Linked DNA regions of Homo sapiens: region 2 is linked to region 1. The links are contacts of gene promoters, found by promoter capture Hi-C in human tissues and cell types (Jung and others, 2019). All regions are on one chromosome and are shown on one strand. The core of a region is centred on a gene start or on the middle of the fragment in contact, and the rest is flanking DNA. Distances in the headings are between cores, read along the strand shown.

What was found. Contacts are between HindIII fragments. The study calls those that stand out against the background at their distance.
Region 2: a fragment that was not itself captured here is called in contact with the fragment with the promoter of GSTM4 in region 1 in 2 of the 25 tissues and cell types used here (IMR-90 fibroblasts and bladder).

The regions. Positions count from the first base shown.
Region 1 is chr1:109,654,849-109,657,348 of GRCh38, forward strand. It overlaps GSTM4 (glutathione S-transferase mu 4), which reads left to right and starts at 1,251. Exons shown (of 8, transcript NM_000850.5): 1 at 1,251-1,577; 2 at 1,864-1,939; 3 at 2,367-2,431. The coding sequence starts at 1,542. RefSeq lists enhancers at 969-1,018, 1,892-2,477. The HindIII fragment of the contact is 7,232 bases long and covers 1-2,500 here.
Region 2 is chr1:109,722,743-109,725,652 of GRCh38, forward strand. No RefSeq gene overlaps it. Among named protein-coding and RNA genes, the nearest start is that of GSTM5, 12 kb to the left of the region's middle. The HindIII fragment of the contact is 5,225 bases long and covers 1-2,910 here.

The DNA.
Region 1 (2,500 bases), core at 1-2,500:
CAGGCACCGCTTCTCTCTCCTACACTCAACCCCTCTCCCACTCCACTGCCTCTCAGTGTGCAAAAACAGTAAGAAGTGTCCCGTATTTTCAAAATCTCTCCCCTGTAGTTCCCACCTGACTTCTAGTCGTAGGTGGCCAAAGTACAGTGTTTTTGAAGGATTGTTTTATTCCCAGTGCCTGGAATATGGTAGGATCTCAACAACTGTTGTTTCAATAAAGGAATGACCAAATGGGTGAATACTAATGTAACAATATCAATTCTGTTTCTTTCATAATTATTCTCATAAGTGTTAGCTTTCTTAAAAAATCATCTTCACAATTGGACCTAGACATTTTATCTTTCCCAGCTCAAGATGGATAAACTCAGAATGACAGGCCAGGCACCGTGGCTCATGCCTGTAATCCCAGCACTTTGGGAGGCGGAGGCGGGTGGATCACTTGAGACCAGGAGTTCAAGACCAGTCTGGTCAACACGGTGAAATCCCATCTCTACAGAAAATACAAAAAAGTTAGCAGGGCGTCGTGGCGCTCGTCTGTAATCCCAGCTGCTCGGGAGGCTGAGGCAGGAGAATCGCTTGAGCCCGGGAGGCGGAGGTTGCAATGAACCGAGATCGCCCTACTGCACTCCAGCCTGGGCAACACAGCGAGTCCCCGTTCCAAAAAAAAAAAAAAAAAAAAGACTCAGAATGACACATTCTTAATGTCTTAATGTATAATGAGAAGTATAACTATTCAGAAGTCCAAGCACTTGTGTGTGCATGGTGCTATCGTCTTGCTGTAGGCAAACCTACATGGGAATCCACCTTGACACATAGGCCACTTCCTGAGCCTGGACCCAGTCTCAGAGCTGGGGAACTGGCCCAATGCAAAAGGGTCGGGAGCATCTGCAACAGAGACTGAGCTCTATCAGCTTCGGTGACATAGCCTCCATTCACGCTCCCCAACTCAGCAGAGAGAGCACACCATCAGACTTCTAAGACTTAGTAGCCAAGAAGTGTTGAATTAAACTCTCTGAGACCTCTCTTTAGTCTGACCCTGGCAGCCTCAGTCTCCCAGAGCCTGTGGGAACTCGGCAGCCGAGAGGCAGAAGGCTGGGCGACGTCCGGAGAAGAAGAAACGGGGGAAGAACTTTTCTCTTACGATCTGGCTTTACTCTCACGCGCACAGCCGAGTCCCTGGGGACCCAGCAGAGGTCCGAAGCGGAGCGGGGCGGGGCGGGGCTACGGAAGCTGGCGAGGCCGAGCCCCTCCTAGTGCTTCCGGACCTTGCTCCCTGAACACTCGGAGGTGGCGGTGGATCTTACTCCTTCCAGCCAGTGAGGATCCAGCAACCTGCTCCGTGCCTCCCGCGCCTGTTGGTTGGAAGTGACGACCTTGAAGATCGGCCGGTTGGAAGTGACGACCTTGAAGATCGGCGGGCGCAGCGGGGCCGAGGGGGCGGGTCTGGCGCTAGGTCCAGCCCCTGCGTGCCGGGAACCCCAGAGGAGGTCGCAGTTCAGCCCAGCTGAGGCCTGTCTGCAGAATCGACACCAACCAGCATCATGTCCATGACACTGGGGTACTGGGACATCCGCGGGGTGAGTGAGGGTCCGCTGCACTGTGGGACCGGGCGCGTGGGCGGGAAGTGCCGAGCGGCTGGGGACCGGCTCTAGGGACGGTTCCCTCCTTAGGGCTATCTCTCACAGGAGGGCCTGTGCATGCCTGTGTGTGTGTGTGTGTGTGTGTGTGTGTGTGTGTGTGTGCGTGCGCCGGGGTGGGGGGGGGGTGCAGTGCAGTGTAGACTAGGGGCTCACCTGGTGCAGAGAAAGTCACCAAGTCAGGGACCCTCCATCTCTGACACGACCTGCGGGCCATCTCTTCCAGCTGGCCCACGCCATCCGCCTGCTCCTGGAATACACAGACTCAAGCTACGAGGAAAAGAAGTATACGATGGGGGACGGTAATGACACCCTTGTGTCCGGGCTCTGCCCACTCACGCTGAGTTGGCACCAAGCAACCCATGGTGGCCACCTGTGGCTACCTCTGCAGGCCTCCCCTGCTGGAGCTGCAGGCTGTCCCTTCCCTGAGCCCCGGTGAGGGAGTCCTGTGGCCTTGCAAGGCAGAATGCTGGGGCGGGATGCTGGGCCCCCTGTTTAATTGGGTTGGGTGTCCCTCAGAGCTTCCCTAAACCCTGGAAGCCTTAGCCGTGTGGGGTCCAGAGCCCTCAGCGGGATTCTTTGTCCCTGAACCCTGGGATGTGGGACTGAGTGGTCAGATTCTAGATCCACCTGTCTCAGGGATCTTGCCACTGGTTCCTTGGGAGGGTCCCCGGGAAGGAGGGCTGGGCTCTGGGGAGGTTTGTTTTCACTTCTTCTTCCCCACGGCAGCTCCTGACTATGACAGAAGCCAGTGGCTGAATGAAAAATTCAAGCTGGGCCTGGACTTTCCCAATGTAGGTGCAGGGGAAGGGGCGGTTTTGGGGGAAAGTGCGACGTGTCTCTGACTGCATCTCCTCTCCCCA
Region 2 (2,910 bases), core at 153-2,652, 68 kb after region 1:
GTGGTACAGGCCTGCAGTCCTAACTATCCTAGAGGTTAAGGTGGGAGGATCGCTTGAGGACAGAAGTTTGCAGTGAGCTATGATTGCACCTGTGTATAATCAGTGCACTCTAGCCTGGGCAACATAGTGAGACCTCATCTCTGAAAAAAAAAAATAATAATAAAGGACGAAAGAAAGAGTAAAAACAAACCCCAATTCACCCTCTATAAAATAACAAATGAAATGGGAAGTGGAAAAAAGGGAAAAATTAGGTAAGCCTATATGATACAGTAGAAAACAGGCTGCACTCAGATTTGCAAATAAGCTGTTTTGCATTTATTTACAATGCTTATAGAATGCACTTCTTTGGTGAAGGGACTCTGAAGAGATATTGCGTAATAAGACTTATATACTAAGCATTGATATGAACAACCCAAAGTCACTCCTTGGATTGGCTCTTGTCTCCATCCCTCTGTGACCCCACTCAGGTTTACTGTCATCCCACTTTGTTACCCTACATTTTTTAGGCTCATGTGGCTTGTGTGGAATGGTGAGGGAAACTCTTACTGATGACAGAGACACAGAGACAGACTGGCCACTACCACATGGTAACCTGAGACTTGGAAGCAGTGAGCGAGAGTGGTCCATTCTGATGGGTTCCGGACCAACTCTCTCTGCAAATGTTAATTGTCATACTCCTTGTAAACAGATCTGGTTTTCCACAGAGGACTCCGCCTTTTGGAATAGCCCCAACAAATCCTCTCAAAGCATATTCTGTCCAAAAGGCCCAACAGACACCCTACATTCCCTGCATACCTTTAGTTCTCTTCCAGTTGAAACATAATTTTTTTTTTTTTTTTTAGACAAGGTCTTGCTCTGTCGCCCAAGCTGGAGTGCAGTAGTGCAATCATGGCTCACTGCAGCCTTGACTTCCTTGGGCTCAGGTGATCCTTCCACGTCAGCCTCCTGGGTTGCTGGGACTACAGGCACATGCCACCATGCCTGGCTAATTTTTTTTCCTGTATTTTGTAGAGATGGGGTTTTGCCATGTTGCCCAGGCTGGTCTTGAACTCCTGGGCTCAAGTGATTTGCCTGCCTCTGCCTCCCTCCACCTCCCAAAATGCTGGGATTACATGCATAAGCCACTGCGTGCGGCCTGAAACATAATTTTGGAAAGAAGCAGATAGGGTCTTGGTCACAGTTCAAAAAGAGTATCTGTTAATATAATTGAAAGTGTTGTACTACAGAAGATAAAGTACAGGCCTATTTAATAATTCTAATTTTCCTTCAAACTTCCAATACAACATGAACATTATTAGCTGGTGTGTTCTATTCCTATTATTTTGCATCATGGAAAACATCTCCTGCGAACACTAGGTTGGCCCGCTGTCTCCAAGTCAGGCCACACAGAAGCACCTATTCATTTAAAATTCAAATATACCCACACCCATTTAATCTTTTCTTCCAGATTTAAGTCTCACGTGTCAGTTATCTGTAATTATTTCCATTGTAAACCCCATAAGAACATTAAGAGCCAATCCCTGTTAGTTTTCAGAAATGTTTCATTTCAATTTGGCCTAAGCAAGGAAGAAATAAGCCAGACCATGAACTTGTAAACCCAGAAAATCTGGGAGAGGTCCAAGTTAAATCAGAAAGTTTATTTTGCCAAGGTGGAGGATGTGGCCATGACACGGTCTCAGAAAGTCCTTGACAACATGTCCCCAAGATGGTCGGGGCACAGCTTGGTTTGTAAATATATATAAAAGCTATGGCTTATCAATATATGTAAAAAGCACATTGGTTCCATCCAGAAAGGCTGGACAACTCGAAGCAGGTGGGTGCTTCAAGTTGTCCCACCTTTCCAGACCAAACCAATGTAGTTCTTTATACATATTAATTGATGTTTCATGTCTGTCTAAAATGTATAAAATCAAGCTGTGCCCTGAACACCTGCGGCACATGTTGTCAGGACATCCTGAGGCTGTGCCACCGGTATTCATCCTCAACCTTGGCAAAACAAACTTTCTAAATTAACTGAGACCTGGCTGGGCACGGTGGCTCACGCCTGTAATCCCAGCACTTTGAAAGGCTGAGGCAGGCGGATCACCCGAGATGAGGAGTCCAAGACTAGCCTGGCCAACATGGCGAAACCTCGTCTCTACTAAAAATACAAAACTTAGCTGGGCATGGTGGCAGATGCCTGTAATCCCAGCTACTTGCTTGGTAGGCCGAGGCAGGAGAATCGCTTGAACCTGGGAGGTGGAGATTACAGTGAGCGGAGATTGTGCCATTGCACTCCAGTCTGGGCGACAGAGCAAAACTCCCTCTAAAAATGAAAGAAAGGAAGGGAAGGGAAGGGAAGGGAAGGGAGGGGAAGGGAAGGGAAGGGAAGGGAAGGGGAAAGAAAGGAAGAAAGAAAGAAAGAAAGACAGACCTGTCTCGGATTTTCTGGAACTTGTCTCACATTTTCTGGGTTCACAGGAGGAATCTCAGATAAGACTGTTTTAAAGCTGAGCTCAGCCATGGATTTGTGCCATTAAATACCTATGAGTTGGGTGATCCTCTCCCCTTGAGGTTCCAAAGTAAACTTGGGGCTCCTGGGCCTGTCAGAAAGTGACATTCTTTACCTACCACAGGTGGACAAAACTATGAGTCCAGTTTCCCAAGTGGCTTTATTGGCTCCATAAATCAAGTTTGATTCCTTAAAGGAAAGCATACCATTCAAGTTAAAGCTTTGGTAAAATAACCAGTTTCTCCAACTGTGTCCTGTTACAAATGAAAACAGATTATTATTGTGTTGGGAACCGAAAGCCTGAGGGTTGTGACCCACTCAGCATTCCACTGAAGGCTATATGATCAAACAGCAAACTGTTTATCATGAATACAGAATGTGAGCAAACTTGCATCTGTGCCTGCCGCCAGAAGGTATGC